4 separate regions of the Homo sapiens genome follow, and regions 1, 2 and 3 are each linked to region 4. Evidence: promoter capture Hi-C in human tissues and cell types (Jung and others, 2019). All regions are on one chromosome and are shown on one strand. Each heading gives the region's core, a stretch centred on a gene start or on the middle of the fragment in contact. The rest is flanking DNA. Distances are from core to core; before and after follow the strand shown. Region 1 overlaps NOL8 (nucleolar protein 8). Region 2 overlaps IARS1 (isoleucyl-tRNA synthetase 1). Region 3 holds the start of OMD (osteomodulin). Region 4 holds the start of BICD2 (BICD cargo adaptor 2).

The links. The method cuts DNA at HindIII sites, captures the fragments that hold promoters and counts their contacts. A contact is called where the count stands out against the background at its distance.
Region 1: a fragment that was not itself captured here is called in contact with the fragment with the promoter of BICD2 in region 4 in 1 of the 25 tissues and cell types used here (mesenchymal stem cells).
Region 2: a contact is called between a fragment that was not itself captured here and the fragment with the promoter of BICD2 in region 4, in 2 of the 25 tissues and cell types used here (dorsolateral prefrontal cortex and lymphoblastoid cells).
Region 3: the fragment with the promoter of OMD here is called in contact with the fragment with the promoter of BICD2 in region 4 in 1 of the 25 tissues and cell types used here (lymphoblastoid cells).

Annotation. Positions count from the first base shown.
Region 1 is chr9:92,304,555-92,307,957 of GRCh38, forward strand. NOL8 (nucleolar protein 8) reads right to left here. Exons shown (of 17, transcript NM_017948.6): 11 at 2,332-2,470; 12 at 1,199-1,276. Among named protein-coding and RNA genes, the nearest start is that of IARS1, 13 kb to the left of the region's middle. The HindIII fragment of the contact is 6,239 bases long and covers 1-3,403 here.
Region 2 is chr9:92,280,302-92,283,402 of GRCh38, forward strand. IARS1 (isoleucyl-tRNA synthetase 1) reads right to left here. Exons shown (of 34, transcript NM_002161.6): 7 at 445-592. Among named protein-coding and RNA genes, the nearest start is that of MIR3651, 11 kb to the right of the region's middle. The HindIII fragment of the contact is 9,461 bases long and covers 1-3,101 here.
Region 3 is chr9:92,422,711-92,425,806 of GRCh38, forward strand. It overlaps OMD (osteomodulin), which reads right to left and starts at 1,761. Exons shown (of 3, transcript NM_005014.3): 1 at 1,492-1,761. All of the region lies in intron 5 of CENPP (centromere protein P), which reads left to right. The HindIII fragment of the contact is 14,159 bases long and covers 1-3,096 here.
Region 4 is chr9:92,763,508-92,766,759 of GRCh38, forward strand. BICD2 (BICD cargo adaptor 2) reads right to left here and starts at 1,326. Exons shown (of 7, transcript NM_001003800.2): 1 at 998-1,326. The coding sequence starts at 1,237. RefSeq lists silencers at 1,277-2,016, 2,869-2,918. The HindIII fragment of the contact is 19,809 bases long and covers 1-3,252 here.

The DNA of each region.
Region 1 (3,403 bases), core at 153-2,652, 460 kb before region 4:
TATTTGTTCAATACGGATTATCTGAAATAACACACATATATCCTACATTGGAGGGAATATTAATATTCTACTTTAGTCTAAAATGTGATTCTTTTTAAAAGAATAATTTTGGAACAATTTTAGGTTTACAGAAAGTAACGAAAATAGTAGAGTTCCTAAATAGCCTTCACTTTGTTTTCCCTAATGTAATTATGTGTGTATGTAACTAGGATATAATTGTCAAAATTAGAAGATTAACATTGGTAGATTACCACTAACTAAACTCAGACATTGTTTTGATTTCACTAGTTTCTCCACAAATTGTCCTGTTGTTTCAAGATTCAATTCAGGATACCACACTGCCTTTTGTGATTTTCGTGGCTATTAGCAGTTGGAAAATGAAGGATTTAAACCAAGCTGCTACTGGTTGCTCCATATATTTGCCATGTTTATCCAACTGACTGCACATCTATAGGAAACAGAAGCTCCTACCACACTAGATGGTTGAATGGTTGCCCCCCAAAAGCTATGTCCATGTCCTAATTCCTGAAACCTGTGAATGTTAACATTATTTAGATAAGGGGTCTTGCAGAGATATTAAGTTAAGGGTCCTAGGATGAGGAGCCCATCCAGGATTATCCAAGTGGGCCCTGAATGCTATCACAAGTGTCCTTATAAGAGGCACAAAGAGGAGAGACAGAAAAGAAGAGGCCATGTGAAGATAGAGGCAGAAATGGGAGTAATGTAGTCTCAAGCCAAGGAACACCAAAGGATTGGTGGCAGTCACTAGAAACTAGGAGAGGCATAAAACAGCTTTGTTTCCCTGAACCTCTAGAAGGAACATAACCTGTTCACTATCTTAATTTGGGACTTCTAGGTTCCAGAACTGTAAAGAAATAATTTTTGTGATTTTAAGTAACTAAGTTTGTGGTAGCTACAGAAGACACAAGAAACTAGTACAAATAAAAGGCATCATTTATACAAATAAAAGGTATAAATGATAGGAGTACATATCATTTATAGATTCCTCTGTTAAAAGGTAAGACCTCCTCCACCACATCAATAATTCCTTTCTAACTCTACCTGCACTACCCCTACCCCACCAATCTTAATACAGTGGGACCAATGAGTAGGATATTGGTTCCTACCTACATTTTTAATTGTCTGAAATGAGATTAATTTACATGATCCTATTGCTAAAAGAAGTAGCTCTACTTACCTTTCTTTTGGCTTATCATCTCTTTTTCTTTCGTAAGTGGCATGGTCTTGCTTCGTTGGATCATAATGTATGATGTCCCTATGTAAAAAAAGGAAGGGAGGTTGGAAGAGATAAAAACAGAACACTAATACAAAAAGTAAGTAGCAAATTATAATTCAGCACTAGGAAGATTCTAATTTTGCAGCAAGAAGAAGCCATATAACATCAGATAAGATAACTAGGATCTTACTAGAAATAACATATACATAGATTTTTCTTGGAGACAGAGTCTCGCTGTGTTGCCCAGGCTGGAGTGCAATGGCGTGATCTTGGCTCACTGCAACCTCCGCCTCCCAAGTTCAAGCGATTCTCCTGCCTCAGCCTCCCAAGTAGCTGGGATTACAGGCATGTGCCACCATGCCCGGCTAATTTTTATATTTTTAGTAGAGACGGGGTTTCACCATGTTGGCCAGGCTGCTCTCCAACTCCTGATCTCAGGTGATCCGCCCACCTTAGCCTCCCAAAGTGCTAGGATCACAGGTGTGAGCCACCATGCCCAGCCGAAAAAATATTTTAAACTACCTACTTTTGAGATTTCCTGGATTTTTTTAGCTTTTAAAATGATTTTAAACATACTAAAATACATACAGATAAAATGATATACTATCTGGGATTTGCATAAAACATTTCATTGTGTAAAGTAGGGGTTGGATAAAGGTATAGAAGAGAACACTGGTCACATGTTGGTGACTGTAAAAGCTAGGTGATGGTGTACAGGGCTTTCATTACCTGGTGTACAGGTAATGATGGTATACAGGGCTTTCATTAGTCTCTCTAAATTTCATGCCTGAAAATTTCCATAACAGTTACGTTTATATAAATACTTTTACAGTTACTATTTAAACTGTTTCCCATTTGTTTCACTAATGAAAGCGATGCTGCTATGACATCTAAGTGTATAAATACAGAAATAATTTAAGATTAGTTCCTTGAAGTGAATCACTGGGTCAAAGGCAAGTATATTTTTAAGGGTCTGATACATATTGCCAGCTGCCTCCCCAGGCCATTAAAAGAGACCTAGTTTTAAATTGAGTTCAAGAAGACATTTATGGCAAAGGATGATATGGTAGAATGGGATGGAACATAAAACATACTTAAATTTCTTAGCAGCTACTGATCCTCTGTTTGTAGAATTGCTTAAGTTGATTTGCAAAACACTTTGTACAACATTCAGGGCTTTCTTTTTTTCTTCAGCAAGCTCTTCTTCCTCAGCAGTTTTCTTTTCATTTACCTCTTTGAGGAAAAGGGATAATTAATACTCTCTTGGAAAACACAGCCTGAGAAGTCTCAATCATCAAATATTTACCAAGTACCTAAACATGTTCAAAATCCATTAAGACAGGAAGAAGAAACTTTAACCTCATTTCACTAACCTCCATAACCAAAGACCCTCAGTCATAGCAAACTCAGAAAGTCTGCGTGACCAGACAATGAAAAGTCCTACTTCTGTTCCTAATTATGAAAGTCTGAATTTAATGGCTTTCAGTAGCAAGTCTAAAACTTTTAAGGTAAAGATCGACAAATGTAATAGAGCAAGATACTAATAACTACAGTGATTATAGACTCTTTGATTTTTTTAACATTCTAAACATAATCTAAATTACGTAAATCTAAAAATGATAAAGAGTGAAAAATGGTAATGGTATATCTGACAATATAAGATATTAGTGGATAGTTGTTTCAGTCTTTGATTCAATAACAAGTATTATGGGAAAAAAACCATATGCCCTACACATACTAAGGCATCATGGACTTTTACAAGCTACTATCCTCAACTACTACAAACAGACAAAATATCACAGAATAAAGTTAAACAGCTAGTTTGGATTACAGAAATACAAAAGTAGTCTAAGCCTGTATGACTCTTTCAACTTACTGCAGGATATAAATAACCAACTAACAGAAACTAGAATAAAATGCTAATTTAAGTACTCTACAGGGATGCCCCCAAAGTTTCTAAGGGTTCAAAGGAAGTTGAGATAGTGTTTAACTGAATCAAAAGATGCTTTATAAACTAGGTAAAGTTATGAGGTAGGAAAGATAGAGTTGAATCCCTAGAGGTGGTAGGAAAGCATGCTAGGTGTTGGAAACAAAACGAACACATATATTGAAATAATAAAGTACAAAAAGTTTACACTGCATTAGGTTGAAACTGCTAATTTCAAC
Region 2 (3,101 bases), core at 53-2,552, 480 kb before region 4:
AGGTATATTTGTTCACAAAGTACCAATCTTCTTTTTAAATCTCGGAAAGGCCCTCGTTGAGACTGGTAACTCTCTACCAGGGGACATTTGAAAGGCAAAAAGTTCTCAAGTTCTGGTATCAATTGCTAGTAACGACGTGATGCCACATCGCTGAATCTTAGATTCTTCATCTGTCACAGGGGCATGGTGTGGAAAAATGTACTATAAACTGGAAATTATAAGAAAATTTTATGTTCTACTTTTTATATCTCTGTACTATTTTAATTGTTTTGTTAGTTTTCAATTAGAAATGAAAACAAATGTTTAAAGTTATTTTTCTAATTAAGTCAGATTGTTTTCAAATAATTCTATTCTTCATGCAAAAAGAAAGGTAAGCTTTCATATTTTCCAAAATATAAAATTATCTTATCCATATTAATCATAAGTAACCAGCCTCCCACTTACCTTTAATTTTCACATATTGCATTTCTGGATTAACACACACAGCAAGGTTACTAGGTAGAGTCCAGGGAGTGGTTGTCCAAGCAACTAAAGATACAGTTTCATCTTCTTCCAAAGGGAAAGTTACAAATACTGAAGGATCTTGAACATCCTGAAATAAATTGAGGTAAAGTATTGTTTTAGAAATCCACAATAACAGACACCTAAGAAAAAGGAACTACTCCTAAAGAGGAATAAAATAAATCTTCAGGGTAAACCGAAGAAACCACTTACCAGACTTACAAACAGAAAATAGCAAGAAATTCCAAGTAAAAAAATTTTTAAATACTTTAAAAAATGTTTTAATCATCACCTTAGTAGTCTCAAAAATAATGTCTTTTGACACCTGGTGACTTTTTTTTTTTTTTTTTTAGATGGAGTCTCACTGTGTCACTAGGCTGGAGTGCTGTGGTACAATCTTGGCTCACTGCAGCCCCTGCCTCCTGGGTTCAAGTGATTCTTGTGCCTCAGCCTCCCGAGTAGCTGGGATTATAGGTGCGTGTCACCACACGTGGCTAATTTTTGTATTTTTAGTAGAGATGGGGTTATTCCATGTTGGTTAGGCTGGTCTCAAACTCCTGACCGCAGGTGATCCTCCCACCTCAGCCTCCCAAAGTGCTGGGATTACAGGCGTGAGTCACCATGCCTGGCCTCTGGTAACTTTTTAAAGTAATGTCTAAGTAGGAACATATGATGGAGGTTTCAGTATTATGATTATCTATTTTGTAAGTCCATCAAGAGTTAGATCAAAAAGATAACTGTTCTGGAATATGGTTATCTTTTTGCCCAAAATACCAAAAAGATCCTACTGAAGCAACACATACTTGAAATTGTAACAGACCCATATAAATTCAGCTCATTAAATAAGAACAAGATTGTCTCCAACTTTACGGAAATGTTTCAACACAAAAATATCAAGGATTTAAAAATAAATAGCTCTAAGGTAGGAAAAAAAAAATCAATCCCCAACAAAAACCAACTGCAATTTAAATAAAGTGACACGAGAGCCATTAGTCACATGTAAAACATCAGACAAACTTGAAATAAGAGACACTACTATTGGCCTGTACCTCCTCAAATATGTCAGTATTATGAGGCATAAAGAGACTAAAGAGCTCTTTAAGATTAAAGAAGGCTGGAGACATACCACTGCATGAAGCACACAATGTAGGTCTTTTTTGTTTTTCTTTCCTTCTTTTTTTCTTGTTAACTATAAAGGACACTGCTGGGACAAGCAGAACCCAATAAGATCTACACATGAGGTAATACAGCATCAATGTTAATTTTCTAACTCCAGTTATTTCAAACAATGTTACTGATTTTAGGAAATATATAGTTTTTAGAGGAAAAGGGCCATAATTCCTGCAACTTACTCTCAAAGGGTACTGTGCCCCACTCCCATAAAAAGAGAGAAGGATAAAGCAAATGTGGTAAAAGGTTAACATTTAGGGAATCTAGTTGAAGGATATAAAGAACTCTCCGCTTTTCTGTGAGTTTGAAACTACATCAAAATTAATTTTTTTCTTTTCTTTTTTTTTTGAGATGGAATCTCACTCTGTCACCCAAGCTGGAGTGCAGTGACGTGATCTCAGCTCACTGCAACCCCCACCTCCCAGGTTCAAGCATTCTCCTGCCTCGGTTTCCTGAATAGCTGGGACTACAGGTGTGCACCACCATGCCCAGCTAATTTTTGTAAAAAATTAAAATTTTTTAGCACGGTGGCTCATGCCTATAATCCTGGCACTTTGGGAGGCCAAGGCAGGAGGATCGCACAAGCTCTGGAGTTTGAGACCAGCTGGGGCAATATGGTGAGATCCCATCTCTACAAAGATAAAAAAATTTTCTGGGCATGGTGATGCACATCTGTGGTCTCAGCTGCTCAGGAGGGTGAGGCTGGAGGATCACTTGAACCCAGGAGGTCAAGGCTGCAGTGAGCTGTGTTTGCACCATTGCATTCCAGCCTAGGTGACAGACTGAAATCCCTTCTCTAAAAATAAATAAATAAAAGTTTTAAGCCAATACATATATATGTATACTTACATATATACATACACACACATATATATATATATATATATATTTTTTTTTTTTGAGACAGAGTCTAACTCTGTCACCCAGGCTGGAGTGCAGTAGCACACTTTCGGCTCACTGCAACCTCAACTTCCTGGGCTCATGTCATTCTCTTACTTCAGCCTGTGGAGTAGTTGGAACTAAAGGTTCACGCCACCACGCCCAGCTAATTTTTGTAATTTTAGTAGAGATGGGGTTTTGTCATGTTGCCCAGGTCGGCCTCCAAAAGTGCGAGGATTTCAGGTGTGAGCCACTGTGCTTGGTCAAGTCAAAAAAATTTTAAAAACCCTTGGTTAACAATCAATATACAGACCGCGTAGAATAGAGGTCAGCAAACCATGGCCCCTGGGCCAAATCTGGCTCATCACTTGTTTCATACAGTGGGTGAGTTAAGAATGGTGACAAAATTGAGAACACTTTGCCTGAAAAGCCTAAAATATTTAATTTGCAGAGGAAAGTTTCCCAACCTCAGTATTAGAACTAAAAATTAAGTATACTCTGTGACTCACCTGGGCGTGGTGGCTCACGCCTGTAAAAATACCCGCACTTTG
Region 3 (3,096 bases), core at 511-3,010, 340 kb before region 4:
CCATCCTGTTTTCATCTATATGCTCATTATTTTCTATGCCTCTTGCTCTTTCCCCAGGATAATTTCCCCTGTTACAACAATCTCTTATTTTATCCAAATTTTTCATTCCCCAACTAATCTCTTCTGAGTCATTTGCTAAGCATATTTTTGTTACTTCTGCTTTTCATACTCTACAATGTATGCCTTGTTCTCTATAGGATAACTCACAGCAATATTGTATAATTCATTGTTGATCATCTCATTTCCTAATATCTTTTAACAGAATCTAATACAATGCAGTGTTATAAGTGCTCAAAGGTGTGTTGAATGAATAAGTTAATAAGTTATAGGTTAAGGCTTGCTAGCAAATGCTTCTCTCTACTAATGTTGATTATTCCTAGGCATTTATTTCACTATGATAATTTCTTCAAATGAACATATTCATGAGAGCTTGACTGTTCCTTTTTCTATTGAATATTTCTTCATCACAATATACTGTATTCCTCACTTTCCTAGTACATCGTGTAGCAGGAAAAGAACAAATGTGAAAAAGAATGTTTGGAGCAAAGTAATATATATATATTACCAGTTTTCAATGTGAATTTTTCATATTATAGCAATAAAACCATCTGTGTCATAATATTTCTCTTACTTGGAGAAAAGCACTCGTGTTCATCAAGAAAAGTTTCAATTGAAATTACTAATGAGGTATAATTTACTTGTTCAGGAAAAGTTTAAAGTAAAATCCTCAACATTTTATTATGTTAAAGACATAATTGTTTTTATTTGTATGACATAGAAACTAGCATATAAGAAAGCAAATATTAGCATATAATTTAGATTTTTCCAAAAAAGTTCTAAATTTTAATTTTATAAAATTTTTTTGCTATTAAAAATACAATTACCTCAATTATTTTTAGCCATAATACATTTAAATCGTAATTAACTAAAACCCAAAGTAACTAGATCCTTCAATAGACTAGATAGAGCATCTGTATTTTCCCTTTGAGAAAGAAGTAAATGAAAAGAAAAACATTCTATATCAGGGATTTAGTCAGTAGAGAAATTTGGAGAAAATCTTGAGTGAAATTTGTACAAATGCCCATCAACCCCCCAACCGGAATCACTAGCATTGCTCAGCTGTATGCCTCAAAGGCATTAGCTGGTTCTTTGTTACTTATAATTCATAGAAAAAAAGAGACCTAAGGAAGAGAAAGAGATTGATTCCTTTAACCTGAGAATCTTTCCTTTCATTCAAAGTAAAAAAAAATCTAAACAAAGATTTTTTATTGGGTAAATCTTAAATGAGAAAGTTAAACTCATTATACTACTTTATTTGAACATTTTGCCTAATCAAAAGTTTAACATAACTTTTTTACCAGATTTTGCTTCCAAAAATTGTGCTTTTGTAATAGATGCAGTCTATTTTAATATTAAAAAATCCAATATACTTTTAAATTTTAACAGTAGGAATACATTCTTAAAAAATTGAAAATTATTTTATTATCATACCTGTTCAATTTGCTTTAGTTTTCAGGGGTTGATGAATTTGTAAATCCTTTAAATGAATCAGAAATTCCTAAATTCTTTAACTGAGTCTCTTAAAAATCCACAGTAACTCTGTGTCCAGACAGGGCTGTCTCTTGAATTACTGTAGCAATTTAAGCAAATACAATCTTCTTGGAAAACACTCGGGTTGAATTAAAATTATGTATTTCTTTTCATTACATGAAACTTTGTGGATTCAAATTAAGATGCTTGTGTTCTTGGTCAGATTTATGTGGCTTACTTCTTTCTTTTCCCCTTAATTTTGGTTTGAGGTGTGGCAAGAATTTCCTCTAATGTGAAAGGCAAACAAAACTAAATGAAACAGCATGTACTGATTACTGTTTTTATTTTCATTTTCATGCCAAAGAATTCTTCAAATTAAGGCCCACTGTGACAGGGAACTCCAGAGTCTCAGCAACTTAAGGTGGAACTCAAAATTTCTTTTTTAATTTTTTGAGATGGAGTCTTGCTTTGCTGCCCAGGCCAGAGTATAGTGGTGCAACCTCGGCTCACCACAACCTCCACCTCCCGGGTTCAAGCAATTCTCCTGTCTCAGCCTCCCAAGTAGCTGGGATTACAGGCATGAGCCACCATGCCTGGCTAATTTCTTGTATTTTTAGTAGAGATGGGGTTTCACCATGTTGGCCAGGCTGGTCTTGAACTCCTGACCTCAGGTGATCCTCCCGCCTCCACCTCCCAAATTGCTGGGATTACAGGCATGAGCCACCACGCCTGGCCTGGAACTCAAAATTTCTTGAGTCCCTTGGTTATTCAACACCTAGGTTCATATCAGTACTTCTATTTGTTAAAACAAGAAATCAGGATTAGAAACATAACATTTCGCATTGTTTATTTTTAAAATGCACTTGATTGTCATTGCTTACACAGATTAACTATACGACTTTTCTATACAAAGGCTTACATCTTCATTTTTATCATCATTTTTATCAGCTATCTCATTTCTCCTCTTTTTGGCAGATGTACCCACTAGAATGACTTCTAATATCCTTTCAGATAAAATTAGTCAGTTGGTTGCACTCCAAAGGTGTATCTTCAATTTGCCTGTTTTTACTATTGCACAAAATAATTCTGTAGTATTGAATAAAATGGGATGAAAAGCTTATGTTACTCAATAGCTATTGCCTTTATTTTGTAGATTTAGAAAATTTCTTCATTTCATAGAGCTATCTCTCCTGAATAGTAACAGTTAACTGTTTTTAATGTTTAATTTTTACACTGTTCTCATATTCTAAACAGAGAGTTGACTTGTGTCTTTTGGCAGTAGATTCGGAGTTCATTTTGGGGGGGAATTCTTTTAAGCTTTTACAAACTAATAAGATAAAGTGAATCCTGGAGTTCATTTTGTTTCCTCAAAAAAGTGTTTTCCATTAGCTTTTTACAAAGAACTCACAAGATTTATTTTGTTAAACTTTGCATTAAGAAAAGTATACAGTGTTTCAAGTGATGCTTTGGCAGTTGTAAAAATCTAGTCTATTATTTGAGACATTGGTATGAAAAACGTGGCAGACCACACTTTAGCCAAGATTCCATCTTGTTACTGATCTTTTC
Region 4 (3,252 bases), core at 76-2,575:
GGCCTCTACCCAAAGCCACATCACTAGCAAGGGGCACAGCCTGGATCCAAACCCTGGTGTATCCTCCCAGAAAGCAATTCCTGCAAACAACGCTATGGAGTCAGGGAACGGGAGAAGAGAAGCTGGGGAAGGACTGTCCAAGACTCCCGCTGCCCTGCCGCCTGGAGACCCTCGACCAGCCTGGTGGTCTAACCTACTCTCCCCCCAGTGGGAATGACACAGACCACTGAGGTCTCCGTCCAAGAGGAACACAGCAAGCCACAGCGAGGGGAAGGGCCCGAGAAGCGGGGCTGGACAGGAAGTGGGCCAGGGAAGTCATGCTAGCTGGTGGGAGCGCAATCCCGGCCATGAGGACACAGCGCTGGGCCTGGGGCAAGGGTACTGGGGGACCCATGCCAGGGGCAACCTCCACGTGCAACCCCGAGCCCCTACTCACTTAGGCCGCTGTCCACGACCTTTCCCCACCTCGGAGGCACTCATGAAAGAAGCAGAAACGCTCCGAAAGTAGCTGCGCCCAGAGAGGGGAAGTGCTTTCTCTGAAGGTGACAGAGCCGCAGCCACCCAGACCCAGGCCCACCCTCGGCCTCTCCCAGCGGGTCACCAGCATCCGTGGCCTCAGCTCCCGGCTCAGCCACTGCCCTCCCAACCCCACCCCACACTCAGACACACCCGGAACAGCGACCACCGCAAAGCATCAGCCCTTACGAAGCCCCGCCCCGCCGGGGCCGCCCAGGTCCGCACAGAAGCAGGCGGGCAGCTGCAGGAGGCGACAAGGCGCCCGGACCCCTGCATTAGCGGCGTCTGCAACGGCCGCGGCACCGGCCTGCTAGCCAAGGCCGGGCCCACTCCCACATACTGCCCGTGCCCCCTCCGCCCCGGCGGCCCACCCCTGCCGGCCCCCGCTTGGCAAGCTGACCTTGGCCGCCCTGGTGCCAGGGACGACGCCCACAGGCCCCGGCGCCGGGCGGGGGTCGCAGGGCAGGGCGGCTCGGCTCACCTCCTTGAGCTGCTCCATCTCGCTGCGGATAGCCTCATAGTCCACCTCGAGCTCCTCGAACTGCAGCTTGAGCTGGTGCTTCTCCTCGAGCACCGCCAGCCCGTACTCGGCCGCCTGGATCTTCTCACGCGTGGTCTCGGCCAGCTCGTGGGACAGCCGCTTCACCTCGGCGCGCAGCCACTCCGGCTGCGCCTCCATCACCAGCCGCGCGTACTCCTCCTCCTCCGACGGCGCCGACATGGTGGCCGAGGGCTGAGCCGGCTCCCACTGAGGCTCTCGCAGGCCGGGCCCTCCTCAGCCGCCGCCGCTGCCGCCGCCGCCGCCGCCCTGCCCCGACGGCCGCCCGCCCGCCCGCGCCGCCGCACGGCTCCTCCCCTCCGGCGCGCGGGGCCCGCTGGGGGCTGGAGTCCTGCCTGCGCTCCGACCACAAGGTCCATCATGCCCGGCGCCCGCCCGGCCCCCGGCTATGATTGGCCCATGCTCTGTGAGGGGCGGGCCCTCGGGCGCAGCCACTGACGCCAATGTGGCCCAGGGGGCTGTGGGGACAGTAGTCCCGCTAGCGCACCGACTACAAAACCCGTCCAGCCCCGCGCCCACCCGTCCCCGTCCGTGATTGGCCTGCGCCGCCAGCGTCGAGCCGGATGTACCGGCGCCTTGCAGTCCCCTGGACGGCGGTCGAGTGGGCGCGGCCCCGCGGCCTTCCCCACACTCAGAGCCGGGGACACTGCTCGGTCGCCGGGCCTCGCGCTCCCCTGTGCCTCTGGCAGCCGGCGGCCACGCGGGGTGGCAAGACGGCTGCCGGGAGAACCCCCAGGGGGAGGCGGGTGCGGGGCGGCAGGACTGGGCTCCCGACCGTGGGACGAACAACGCGGACAGAGCCCGGGAGGCCACGAGCTAGAAGCGCATCCGAGAGCGCGGGTGAACGGCTGCTGCTGGAAACCCGTGGACGGTGTGACGCATGCTCTGTGCAGACGTCTGGGGGCGGGAGGAGGACGGGCCAGCAGGGGGCGCCCAGGGGCCAGCGGGAACCTCAGCACCGCCCCTCAGTCCTTCAAGGTCTATTTCTTGGGAATAAAGACATTTCCATTAATACAGGGTCATAAACGTGGTAAATATAATTGTTGTCTCCGCATCTATTTTTAGGCCTGACTTAAGTTGTTTGAAAGCCAGTCGTACCCTTCGCCTTGGCGTAGGTAACACTTCTCCGTATATGGTGGTGTGTGAGATAACTCGTTTATTCTTTATCTCATTGACCTAAAGCGCAACACACCCCACAGCCGCTGACCGCCATAGCACCTAATGGCCAGTATCAGTGCAGATGAGTTCACCCTTCCCTCGTATTTTCTTTAGCCAGTCCACAGGCCCCAAGGGAAATCCTAAAGGATGATTTCCATGGACCCTAGCACAGCCATAGTCCCTTCCTTCCCACCGTCTCTCACTGCCCCTCTCCATCTGCTTGTCCGCCTCTCTTAGGCATCCCTAACCTCTCCGGAACCTAAGAATAATAAATTCCTTCTGTTTTGTACCTTTTAATTTTACTTTCTCATTGTATCTCACCTGAACCCCACACCCATTCGGTTCTCCTAGAGAGTGGCTATCTTGGCTTATGGTCACTCTCCCTCAAGACCAAATTAGAAAGAAGCCATGACAGCAGAAATCACAGCACACAGGGTACTGACACTATCTAATGCACAGTCCACACTCTAATTGCACGAGGGCCCAACACCATACTGGAGAGTTTCAGTATTGTTTTTGTGGTCCAGGATCCAGTTGCATTCAGTCGTCAGGTTTCCTGAGTCTCCTTTGATTGACCTTTCTGAGGAGTGCAGTGCACACTGGTATATGCTCATGGGGTGATGAGGTGATGCGTTTCTGGCAGGACTGTCACTGAGGTGTTGCTGAGTTTTCAGAGCACCAGCCGGGAGGTATGTGATGTCGATTTGCATTTCTCTGATTGATGCTGGGTTTTTCTTTGGTAATTAGTGTCATGAGTGAAGACTTTGCAACCATAGATATAGCCTATGACTCCTCAAACCTTGACCCACTGGTTTTGGCATTCATGACTACTTCTTGCCTGAAATAATTATTACCATACTGTCTGCTTTTTTTTTTTTTTTTTTTTTTTTTTTTTTGAGACAGAGTCTCGCTCTGTCCCCAGGCTGGAGGGCAGAGATGCAATTTCGGCTCACTGCAACCTCTGCTTCCCGGGTTCAAGTGATTCTGCCTCAGCCTCCCGAGTAGCTGGGACTACAGGC